Linked DNA regions of Homo sapiens: region 1 is linked to region 2. The links are contacts of gene promoters, found by promoter capture Hi-C in human tissues and cell types (Jung and others, 2019). All regions are on one chromosome and are shown on one strand. Each heading gives the region's core, a stretch centred on a gene start or on the middle of the fragment in contact. The rest is flanking DNA. Distances are from core to core; before and after follow the strand shown.

What was found. The method cuts DNA at HindIII sites, captures the fragments that hold promoters and counts their contacts. A contact is called where the count stands out against the background at its distance.
Region 1: a fragment that was not itself captured here is called in contact with the fragment with the promoter of BRINP2 in region 2 in 1 of the 25 tissues and cell types used here (dorsolateral prefrontal cortex).

Annotation. Positions count from the first base shown.
Region 1 is chr1:176,911,952-176,918,270 of GRCh38, reverse strand. The region is part of intron 16 of ASTN1 (astrotactin 1); the gene reads left to right. Among named protein-coding and RNA genes, the nearest start is that of MIR488, 110 kb to the left of the region's middle. The HindIII fragment of the contact is 7,253 bases long and covers 1-6,319 here.
Region 2 is chr1:177,165,883-177,172,320 of GRCh38, reverse strand. It overlaps BRINP2 (BMP/retinoic acid inducible neural specific 2), which reads right to left and starts at 1,363. Exons shown (of 8, transcript NM_021165.4): 1 at 589-1,363. RefSeq lists enhancers at 547-1,135, 1,136-1,725. The HindIII fragment of the contact is 8,375 bases long and covers 1-5,529 here.

The DNA.
Region 1 (6,319 bases), core at 2,193-4,692, 260 kb after region 2:
GAGCTTACCTAAGGAGGAAGACAGAGAAGAGAAGTAGGCTCAGGACCTAGCCCTGAGTTGTTCCCACTGTAAGAAGTAAGACAGAGGAAAGGTTGGGGTAGGGGGTGCCGCAAAGAAGACTACGAAGAAACAGTCAGGAATTAGGAGGATCACAGGAGGGCTGCAATGACAAAAGGAGTGAGTAGCTGTGTGTTGTGTGGCTGAGAGGCAGAGTGAGATTAGTAGGTCAAGCCTACTAATTATTGCCAAGTTCACTTAGAGAATAATAAAGTACTATAACTGCAAAAGCTCTGAGAAATAATGATGATGGAAATAGATATGCAGGAGTTTAAAATTATTAGTATTTTTGACATATACTGTTTTTCTCGCCACCCTGTGAAGTGAGAAGGTAGGTTACAATTTGTGACTGTGTTTGGTGAAGGCACGTGGTGAGTTGTGCCCAGTCCTGAAGGGCACCTTGCAGAACACAGCTTTGTCCCTTGAGGTGTCTCCAAGGTGAGTGTGCTGTCCCAGATGTGAGGATGCTGGCAGTAGGACCAGTCTGCACACAGGACATCTGTCCACAGACCCTGTGTCCTTGCACTGCGGCCCTCTCTCTCACCTGCTGGTAGCCCAGCACCCCTTACTCTACAGGGCAGAACTGAAACTGGAACCCAAGGCTTCATAATTCATCATCCTTCCCTCCCAAAGCAATGCATTTGTTTTCCCTTCTGCTAAAAACCAGGAGAACTCCAGAGGCTTGTCCCACTGCCCGGGCATGTCTTTGGCTTCTGGATCTGCCCACACTGCTGCCCCAGGATAAGCACGTCTTCCCACGGGGGTGCCAGATGAAGCATGGTCATCCACAGAACAGTTTTATTATTACTAGTCAATATTAACATGACAGCAAACGAAAGAAAATCCTTACTCTGCCCAGTTCTCACCGTGCCACCCCACCCTGGGAAGCGTTCCATTCCACACATACCTACAGCTACGTGTGATTGAGTGCCAGGCCCTATGGAAAGCATTAGGAATACATTGATGAATAAGAACTATGCCTGCCCTCAAGTTGTTCATCAAGTCTCTGGGAAGAGTCTAGGAAACCAGAAATTACAATGAGGTATGACAGGGGCTACCAGAGACCTGAGGAAAGGAAGCACCAAAGAGGAGGCTCCAGATCTGGATGGGGCAGGACTGAAGAGAACCTTCCTAGCAGGAGTGCTACCGCACTGAATGAAGGAGGGTGAGGGAACCTCAGGCTGACTCTGGGAAAAAGGAGTTCTAAAAAGGAAAAAAGCACAACCCTGGGTTGTGAGAAAGTGCTGTCCACCTGGCTAATGTGGGGTAAGTAGGGGAAGTGAGGCTGGAGAGAGGCTGGTTGTGGGCGGGGCGGGGAGGCAGAGGTTCAAAGGGCCAGCCTGCCATGCCCTCTTGCCTGATTTTACCTTCAAGTCCCTTGAGAGCTACTAAAGGATTTCAGCAGGAAAAGACATCTTCTGATTGTGCTTTAGAAACATACATGTAATGACAGCGTGGAGGATGCTTGGGAGATGTGAAAATGAGAGGGAAGTGTACCAGTCAGGAAAATTTTGGAGTAAACCAGGTGGGAGCTGCTGAGGGTCTGGATGAAGAGGGAAGAAATGTCTAGTGGAAAGTTGATATGACGTTAATTTAGGAAATACTGCCAATAGGTGACTCTTTGGATGTGGAGGGTGAGGGTGTGTTGAGCCATAGCAGTGCACACTCGTGGAAATCTCCTAGGGAGACATACATGGAAAACCTGTGGGCTCTGCGGGGACCCCCCTCAATGATGGCAAAGTAAGAATGTAGAGATCTTTCACCCAGACATTAAACTGGCTGACTTGGATTACTGAGCAGCAGAATTACTGCCTTTTTTGACAGTACAATTTGTTTCTGGATGCTGACATGTCTGGGGATGCCAAAGGCAGCACTCACCTTTCTGGGGTGTCTACCCCCAACTCTGGAGCTGCAGGCACACCTACCTTCCTGAGATATAAGGGAGGAATGGGGAACCTACATACTCATCTGCATCCTTATCTCACAAATAACCTGTGTTTGACCATGACCCCAAGGAGAAGCACCTCAATCCTAGCCCCAGCCGTTATTCGAACACAACCTTGAATCCAGATGGACTCAGTCATCTGACCTAGCACAAGAGAAAGGGTCAATGGTGAGTCTTTTCTAACTCCAGTTTTCAGATTCACTGTAGTAAAGATCCCAGTGATTTTTCCATTGAAAGCCATTTGGGTGGAGATAAACCAGGGACATGGGTGAAAGACTGAGAATGGGCAAGTTTCGGGTTTGTAAAACATTCTAATACCTCCCTGCAGTAGCTAGCAGTCATGTTTGATTCTTGCCATTCCAAGCATATGTTTTCTTGTTATCTTTTAATTGGTTTTAATTCTAAATTTAACACTAAACGGTCTATGATGGTAGTGACTGCAAGCACTAGCCTGGTGCATGTCAATTCCAGGGACATGTGAGACATCGGGACCTTATCGTGCCCTCCCTCTCCTCCCCGCATCACACCGCCTGCATTAAGAAGCTGGAGATTGCTCATTGTACCCTTTCCTGCCTGTGTTTTCATGTTTATAGATGTTGGGTTCTGGGGAACAAAGGGAGAGGAGTAATCTAAAATCCGAATGATACCACCGGAAGCTGTGTACGACAGCAGGTGAATGCCAATAGATTGGAAGCTGGTGTCAGCAGGCCCAGGATGCATGATATCCTGCATCCAGGAAAGGATTTCAGAAACTGTTGAAAACAACTGTGAAAAATCCAATAATCAAGTGTTCTGGAGGTTGCTGGGAAAGTCTGCTTTTGAAGATCTTGTACATCTGTAATGTGGAAGGAGGCTTGATGCAAGGAGGGGAGGAGGGTTTGGTAGTTAGATACTCAGTGCTTGCCTGATCATCAAACAGATGACTTAAAGCCTCCAAGCCTTAGTTTCTTCATCTGCAAAACAAGTTAATGAGAATATTGTAAGGACTAAGAGTCATAAGGCGGGTAGAACACCTGGCCCATGGTAGGTCCTCAGTAATGTAACTATTAGGGTATTTCCCAAAGTGGGCTCGGTAGCACGCTAATTCAATGAAATGATCTGCAAGAAGTGATTTTTATGTTCAAATTATTTTTGACCAACACTGTATGCTATATTTTTTCCTTGGGTACTTGTAATAAATATTAGAATTTTAATGGTTTTCAACGGTTGACAGGAAACCTGCTAATTTTAACTTAGATTTTCCCATTACATCAGAGCATGAAAATTTTTTTGTCTATTTGTGATTTTGAGTAATGATACTAAAGGACCCTAAAAGACAAAAGTTCTACAAACCTACTTAGAAAGATTCTGAGTTTTTATTATTATGCATCTTCTAATAAGAGGAAAGTTTTCTCTTTAACCTCCTCTATCCATATCTGGCACCAAATCCTTTCATTTCTTCTAAAATACCCCCTGGATTGTCCCTCATTCTCTGTACACGGTTGCTACCCCAGTCTGACTCCCAGACCTCCAAGGTCGCATTGTTGTTACAGCCTTTTGGCTATTTTTCCCTCCGGTCTACGATTCATTCAAATTTTCATTTGTTGTAAGTCATTTCACTGCCTGACTCAGTTTAACTCGGTTTAGTGCCATTCCTGTGTAGCTTCTGACCAAGGCAAGGCACTGCTTGCTTCCTAACTTGCTTCAGGCTCAAAATTCCTGGACTGGTTCTTCAGGACCCCATGCGGTATGACCCTAGCCTATTTATGTAAATTAATGCTTATTCTTTATCCAGTTAAAACCTCCATAACACAGAGTTAAGCTTTGTAATGACCTCTGTGGCCACCTTCACCTCTGTTTCTTTGACCTTATTGTCTCTGCCCTGAATAATTTACACTGTTTCTAACTACCTAGTCAGCGAAGCCTGCCCATTCTTCAGAACATATTCCTCCATGAGGCCTTTGGCGACTCCCCTGGGCCTCACTCATGTCCTCTCTCCTCCAAAGTCCTGTGACACTTATAGTCTCTACCATAGAATTTAGGACTGATTGACTACCCTGGAGTCAGACAGATCTGAATATAAGCTCCAACTTTTCTACTGATAATTCTGTGACCTTGGACAAAGTAATAAACCTCTCTGTTGCCCGGTTTTGTCATCTCTGAAATAGGAACTATTTTAGCACCAACCACTGAGATTCATATAGAGAACTGACAATGTTGAATTTCACCCTTCCCCATGAGACTTAGATAAGACTCATGATGCCCCCCTTGTTTACCTAAAATATAGCCAGATACACTCTTCAAATTCCCGTTGTTTGCCTTATAAGTCATTAGCTAAATTGTTTGTCTCTTCTAATCAATCACAACAAAATGCTTGTGAACCAAATGTTGGTTAAACTTTTCTTCTTCCCCCAAGCCCTTGAGCTTCGGCTCACCCTTAGCCTGAGCTGTGTATAGTGACTACTGAATGTAGGCTGGTTTCAGGTAAAACATTCTCTTATCTACTTTCCAATCATGATGCTTCTCCACACCAGATTCTTTGTAGCCTTGTTCACTTCTGTCTATAAAAGTTAAAAACTCTTTTTGTTCAACTCTAGAGATGCTTGCAGACTTTATCAGAGCATTCTTCCAAATTCAATGGCTTCCCTACCCTGCCCCAGCAATAATCGCTTAGAATAAAATTCTTCTAAATCCAAGTTTGTTTTTTATTTGACAGAATACATGCAAAGTGTTTAGCAGAGTGCCAGGGCATAGAAAATGTTTTAATAGTGAGCAGCTGTTATTATTACTATTATCACATGTTTGTTAGTCTTGTATCCCACATAGATTGTAAATCCTACCTTTACAGCTCCCACAGTACCTAGCCCAATGCTGGGCACATGCATTCATGGACGTGCACTGACTGATGAACCTATCAATAGCATCAGAAAGCCAACAACCCAATGTGATCCTACATTTGTGAAAAAACCCACAGACAGTATAAAGGACATTTTAGCTGTGTTTAGAGAAAGAAGAGGACCAAAGAAGAATTGAAATCACCACCTCCTGTAATCTTAATAGGTAATGGAGAGAACATGGCAACCCCTGTCTTCCTTCCATTCTCTCTGACACATAAAATTACCTTTAAACAAGAAGAAAGCAAGGAAGCCAAGTAAGAGAGAATTGTTGCTTAAATCAGTGAGAGAAGGAAAGAGAGAAATGGGCAACTTTGATAGAATTTGATCTTCCAGCAGGGGAGAGCAAGATCTTCAAGCATACCTGTTACCTGCAGGGGTGGGCACGACCTTCCGTGGGATCATGGATGGTGGAGAGAAGTTGGAACAAATGCTAGAAGGCTGTTCTTTTTTCTTCAAATATGGGGGAATATTATATTCTGAAAAGTAGAGCTTATTAACATTATATCTTTCCTGTGCTTGACTTGTGAAAACAGAGAATGTAGTAATCGCAGAGATCTAAAATGAGCTTGCTATGAGAAAGCCATGATAGCAAGCCTCATATTCTTTGTTAAAACTACTTTTAGATTTTTAAATTCCTTTGGCTAAAGAAAACCTACTCATTCCACCATCCCCCTGTGTTCCTTACCATTATGGGAGGTAGTATAGCTTAGTGGTTAAAAGAAAGGCCTTTGAAATCTGTATGACCTAAGTTCTCTAAACTTCATCTTGGATATCTAGAAAATGGAAATGAGTATACCTGCCTCAAAGAGCAGGTCTAAGAATTCAATGAGAATGGGTATACTAAAGCATTTATTTTTAATGAACAGTCAGGGGTCAGCAAATTATGACCTGCAGGCAAATCTGGTCTGCTACCTGTTTTTATATGGCCCTCAAGCTAAGAATGGGTTCTACCTTTTTAAATGATTGAAAGATAAAACTAAGAAAGAAAAACAATATTATGTGCCATGAACATCATAAATAAATTTTACCATCCATAAATAATGTTTTATTGAAGCAGAGCCATGTGCATTTGTTTACATAATACCCATAGCTGTGTTTGCACTACAAAGGCACAGTTGAGTAGTTGCAACAGAGACTGCATGGCCAAAAATATTTCCTATCTGATTCTTTACAGAAAAAGTTTGCTGACTTCCACCATAGATGGTAGCTCTTGTTATTAAAGATGCCTGTATCCTTGAGCCTATCCCAAAAGCTTCCTTCTCAATGATTCTTCCCTTGCATACGTCTCCTGATATAATCTGGTCCTTATTTGATATTTTATTAAAGAGCACCATCATTTGTCACATAACAACATTTTGGTCAATGCAAGCCCACGTATATGACAGTGGTCCCATAAGATCGTAATGTAGCTGAAAAATTTCTGCCACTGAGTGATGTAGCC
Region 2 (6,438 bases), core at 114-2,613:
GCCAGGCTCAAGTCAATCAATGGGGCTTCTGCCACCACCCTGGGGAGACTATTTGCAACCTACAGGGTTCACTGTTTGGAATTTTATTTTCCTGACTGCATGTGCATGGGAAACATGCCATAGGGCTCTATGAGCACGATAATATAGATATCGTGCATTGTAACCTCAGCTCTTTGGGCTCCTTCCCAAACATAATGAACCTCCCAGCGTCAGCTGGGCAGGCAAAAGTCCTCGTCATCTTCTGCAATTATGCAGCCCTATTGAATTTTCTGAAGCTAATAGGAGTTGCACTAACTTTGAGGACTTAAACCAGGCAAAAGCAATATAGGTCAGGCAGGGAGCCCAAACCCTCTGACAGCCATGCAACACCAGGAGGCAATACCAGAGCAATCTCTAGCTCAACCCCAAAGTCCATTGCTCAACTCCACAAGACAGAAACTAGGAGAGGTGGCATCATTCCCTCTGCCTGCCACTGCCAGGCACCAGGGCAAGAGGGTTGTATGAGAGCAAAATGGTCCCTTTACCAACGGACACACCAAAAAGGACAATGAAAAGGGGAGAAAAATCACCGAAACCCTGCACTGTTACCTTGAATCCTTGCAAGAGCCCTCCTTGCTGTATCAGCTGCTCCCCAAACCTTCAACGACTGGGAGGAGACTCCTAAAAGATTCCAGGTTTTTGTGCAACATCTCCAGTGGCAGCTTTCCAAAGTTTTTACTTCATGATTTCTTGTGGTTCTTTCTCATTTGGGGAAACGCGAATGCCTCCCCCTCAGCGTGTGAGAGGGAGCGGATGTCTCTTTTCAAATTCTCTTGCTCCCCGCTTTACTGTCGGTGCCGCCGCCGCCGCCACCGCCACCGCCGCCAACGTTAGACCACTTGCCTGCTGCCTTCCCGCTGAGCAGCCAGGATCCCGGTCTCCCAGAGCATCTTTGAAGTGGGGCTTCGGCACTGGGCCGGGGCGCACGCGGGGTGGGAGAGGTAAGGGAAGTGCAAGACCCAACTGGGGGAGTCCCCTGTCCCTCCGCCGAGGAGAAACCCAAGATTTTGCCTTCTTTCCAACTCTAAAGAGACTCACCCACCCGCTCTCTCACCCGAAATCACTGCCTTGCACATGGGCAGAGACAGGTCTTCCGGCTTCACCGCTCCCTCGGCTGCCTGCAGACCTGCCACTGACCTCGGAGCGCACGGCAGGTGCACATCCCCGGGCAAGTCCTAATGGGATCCTCCGAGCTCAGCGTAAGCGCTGCCAGCGCAGCGGCGAGCAGCTTGCGAGGCAGGCGGATTGCATCCCAGAGCTGCAGCCCGGCGCGTCCCCGCTCCGACTCCGCGCTCCGTACCTAAGCAGTGTCACCTGCAGACTCAGACACCAGATGAGTGTCTTAAGATAACAATGCTGCCCTGCCTGCCTCTCTCTTTCTTTCTTATGCATGTAGGTTGGCAGCCAATGGGACACAGCGCCACACTCCCCACAGGTGCCCATTGGCTGGGCGGCTTGGCAGGGGGCGGGCTCTGAGCCTCACCGCTCTCTCCTTTGGTGAGCTGGCAGGCTGGGGTACCAGCTCTGTTAACCCTCCCAGCGTTGCAGTGGGGACTTTTTGGTGTGTATAAGGAAGCCTTGGGTACATTCACGGGTGGGGCGTTGGACACTCTTAAAAAGGCTGGGGAACAAGAAGTAGCTGGGGAGCTAATTACATTTTCTTCTAATCTTCCTGAGTTACAATAATCATTTATCCCAGCCCATTTTGTTTGCTTGCTTAACTAGAACTCCCAGAGATTGGGACCCATCTGAGCCATTTTCCATCTAATTTGAGGTTTCATTTGGTTGTTTTGTGCATTTTTTAGCCTCTTGGATTACTTAATTAGAAATGAGCCCCCAAGTGAGAAATAGTACACACACACACACACACACACACACACACACACACCCCAGAGACCCAAGAGGAGAGAGAGGCAAAAGAGAGCAAGAACCCAGTAAGATGGCTAGAGAGTGAAACAGATTTAGAGGCCAGGACAGCTAAATCAGGAAACATTCTGCCCCCACACCAGGACTGTAAGGACAAAGGCAAAGAGGAGAACTTCAGGTTTCTGGGGAGAGATTAAGTTTCAAAAATGTCCCTCCAAAAAAGGGAATTGTTTTGCCTGTGGTGTTTTCCCTCTGTGTGTCTCCTTTCACTTCTGTGTGTGTCAGGAAGAGGGACTGTGCATCTCCGTTTAGTTTTTAAAGGAAGACTAGAGAAATCAGAACAGGACCAGCCTTGTTTCTGTGAAGCAGGTGCTGTTGCTGGGCCTGTGAATTGAAAGAGAGGGAGGGAGGAAAAAAGGGAGGGAGGTGGAGGGAAAAGGGAGGAAAGGAGAAGGGAAGAAAATATTAACTTTACATTGAAGTGTGAAGTATATATTTTTGATATCCTAATGAGGGTACAAAACTGAAACATGTCCCGCTAACTAGCATACTAAACTAGATTTTGGCAGGAGCATAGGAAAAAGAGTAATAGTTGAAGAAAAATCCAATTCAAGGGAAGAGCTGGGGGCTGGAGCTGGGGAAGGAACTTGGGAGATCCATGCTAAGTCATGTGGTGGGGGAAGTATGAAGAAGATAAATATATAGTCAGAAAGCGAGAGGAGTCTTTCAATTTAGTTTCCTTAAATGGAGAGCAACATCGGAGATTATTTTGTAAAGAACTAGAAAAAAAAAGTATGTAGAGATTTAATGAATGTGTAAGAAGTACACATGGAGATTAGCTAAACTGCATCAAGTAGCCGTAAGTTCTGAATGAATAAAGAAAAATTAGAAATTTTCTTCATTCATCCCCTCAGACTCACACATCTATCACTTTCACCTATATTTTCTTCTCTGTATCTTATACAACGTTGAACTTCCTTCTGCATACTGCAAGTATCTGTTTGCCTAAGCTACAAAACATGTCAGAGAATGGTGGTCCCACAGGGTCCTGAGCTCTCTTTCTAGAATAAAATAACCAAGAGAACCACTGAGAGCCTAAATCTATTGCTACCCAACTGCTGAGTTATTTACTTTTGTGATTTCTAGAGGCAGAGACCCACTGAACTTGTCCCAAGTGACAACATACTGAAATGTTAAAATAGCATAAGGGAGTGGGTAAATAGAGGGAGAGGTTGAACAAAGGATTGCTAATTTCAATGGAAAGAAAGTTAAAATTTCCAAAATCTGTAAAAGAGAGAGGAAAGAGGTGATGGCAGATAAGAAGACAACTTGAAAAAGAAAACTTGCTTGTACTTTCTTCTCCTATAAAGTCTGAAGCCGTGTAAAAAATTTTAAAGAGGCAGAATATACATTAAGAATTGCCACAAGTGTATAGTTTAATTCTTGCCTATATATGCATCAATGTAACCATTACTCACTTTATTTCCAGCACTGCAGGAAGCATGTTCGTGAACGTTCTCAGTCAAAACCCTCCACTCCCCAGAGATAATTATATTCTGACTTCCATCACCAAAGATTAATGTTACTTGCTCTTGAACTTTGTAAATATAGGATCTTAGAGTATACACTCTTTTGTGTCTTGATCCTTTCACTCATCATTTTGTCTCTGAGATTTATCCATGTAGTTGTATGTTTTATTGCGGTGCACCACTCTATTACATGACTACATGGCATTTATTCATTCTGTTCTTGATAGATATTTGGGATGTTTCTGGGGTTTTTTGGCTATTATAAGTAAACTTGTTATAAATGTTTTTGTGCTTGTCTTTTGGTGGATGTATGCAATCATTTCCTCTGGGAAAACACCAAGGACTATACATTACTTAATTTGCTTTGACTACTACACTGGAGAAAATCTCATGAAGATGACTCTGAAGCCTATTATCTTGCCAAAATAATTGAATAAGGTGATAGTGGCAAAGGCTATCGCTACTGAGTGCCAACTAAATGCCTAAAATGTGTCACATTGTTTACATACATAATCTCATTTCCTCCTCACAACCACCCCCAAAACTATGTATTATTCCTGTTTTGCAAATAAGAATATTGAATTTAAGACTTTGTATTAGGAAATAGCTCTTGCTTTCCTGAGTGTATGTGTATGTATATGTGTAGATGTTGGGGGAGATGTAAATAAATGCCCAGGGAATGGAGCTAAAAGAAGGGAAGTGATGGAAGTTCTCACTGCATAGGTGCAGCTGCAGATTAGCTTGGAGAGATGGGACAATCTGAAGAATAAAGAGTGTTGCACTTCAGGTGGACAGAATGTTATGGGAGGAGTGAAAATAGGAAATAGATTTTAATTTGATTGAGAGATGTGTGTGTCTGTGTGCACATGTGTGGTGGGAGGATAGAGATATAGTGCAGTGAGCAAACTATCTAAAAAACAGTGTGAGATTAGAAGAGTTTTAAAATTTCTAAACCATGGGTTTTCAGCTTTATCATGTAGAAAAAGAAAAACTAGAATGACATAATGAAAGTTAGATTTCATGAAGATCAACCTGGTAGTTGTGTACAGAATGCGTTGCTAGGAGGAAAAGGAATCAAAATCTATTTTAATAGTCAAGGAAAGAGGCCATTGGTGCTTAAATACAGGAAGGTGTATCTCAGGAGAAAAGTGAAGATTGGAGATAACAGCGCTTGCTGTTTTACAGTGTTTTAAAGAATAGAAATTTTCTGAGAATGAATAAATGCCATGTAGTCATGTAATGGACTAGTACACAGCAATACAATATTGAACTACATGGATAAATCTCACAGACATAATGATGAGTGAAAATATTAAGACACAAAAAAGCATATACTCTAAGATTCTATATTTATAAAATTCAAGAGCAAGTAACATTACTCTTTGGTGATGAAAGTCAGAAACATTTTCTGTGACCAGCAGGGGTGAGCGGAGATGATTGGCCCCTTTTGTTGATGGGGAACTAAAGACAAGAATGGTCCAAGCTTATCTCCAAATAAGAATATTATGAAGTTAAGTCTTGAATCCAGTTCTATTATTTCACTATATCATTATGCCTCTACACAAAGGTGATGATTGAGATGCATAACATTTTCCCCCATCTCCTCTAAATGTAAAACATCATGCATTAGAGATGGCCTGGTTTCCATGTACTTCAACCTTTACCCACATCTCTAGGTATTTAATTCCCTAAGAAAGGGCCATGTGACATTATTTCCATTTTTACAGGAATCAAGTACTCTGGAATAATATATTCTCTTTTAAAAAATTCTACTGTTTCTTTTGTTTGGTTTTGTTTAGAGAGGTCTAGAAAGACTTGAGATACCAACTACCAACTATGCCCAACTCAATATACATTTTAAGAAGACTAGATATTGACTTATTGGAAAATCAACCCTAAATGGTTTACTTGGGCTTTCTAACATGACTCAAGAATCTTCAGAAAATTAGAAAGAAAGATTTCAAAGTGACAGTAGATTATATGCTACTCAAAAGCAGGAGTAGTATTTTTCTGGCTGTGCTTAGCCTAATGCTTATGATACAGTAGGTACACAAACATTTGCTGAATTAATTACTGTGGTCCATAAAGCCCAGTGATTATCCATGGGTGCACCCTAGTGTACCATAACCATATAGTGGAAAGAGCAGTGGGCAAAGAAATCTTGTTCATGGTCTTAGCTCCATAGAAGATAGATCACTCTTTAATGGGTCTCAATTTCCTTATCTGTTAAGTGAGAGATTGGATGAATACATGATCAGGTACTTACATGCCATTTCTCACATTCTAGTATCAAGGGTGTGTTCCTGACATCCACTATAATTATTCAATGGCAAATAACCTTGCATAAGTAAGTTTAATACTAGATTTTTGTTTATGCTAGGGATAACAGAATGAAAGAGATATCATGGGGTTTTTGTCTCACTCAGTATCTCTTAGGGGAGCAATGACGATCAGGATGAGTTTTCAAAAGTCGTTAGCTGGTACATCTTTTTTACAGTAGTTTACAGTAGTTTGCAATGCTGCATGGTAAGATAACTTGGGGTTAATTCCCAGATAAGTTACATATAAAAACTCAACTAATAAAGTGTCTTTGTTCTTCTTTTCTTTGCATATGTGGTAAATGATCTTTCACTACTTAAACATTACCTTAAATATGGCTTATTTTCTCTATTCAATTAGATAAACTTTGTAAAATATATGGCAAAAGCTTTTTTGTCTTTTAAAGAACATATTTTCACATATGCCAATAAACTGACACCAGGTAGAATGAAAATGTAATTGTTTCTTAAGTAGGGGTCCTCTTTTAGAACAGTAGTGCATTAAATTTCTAGAGTGAGAACTACAAATAACACAGTCTTCACAGCACCTAGTATTGAAGTTAGCATTGACCCAATAACAATGGAGGGACACACTTTTGAAATAAGTTATTGGTTATCATGTGAGAGAAAGTTCAGTTAAATGTCAGATTTCAGAATACACAATGTCACTTTTCTACCACTGTTTA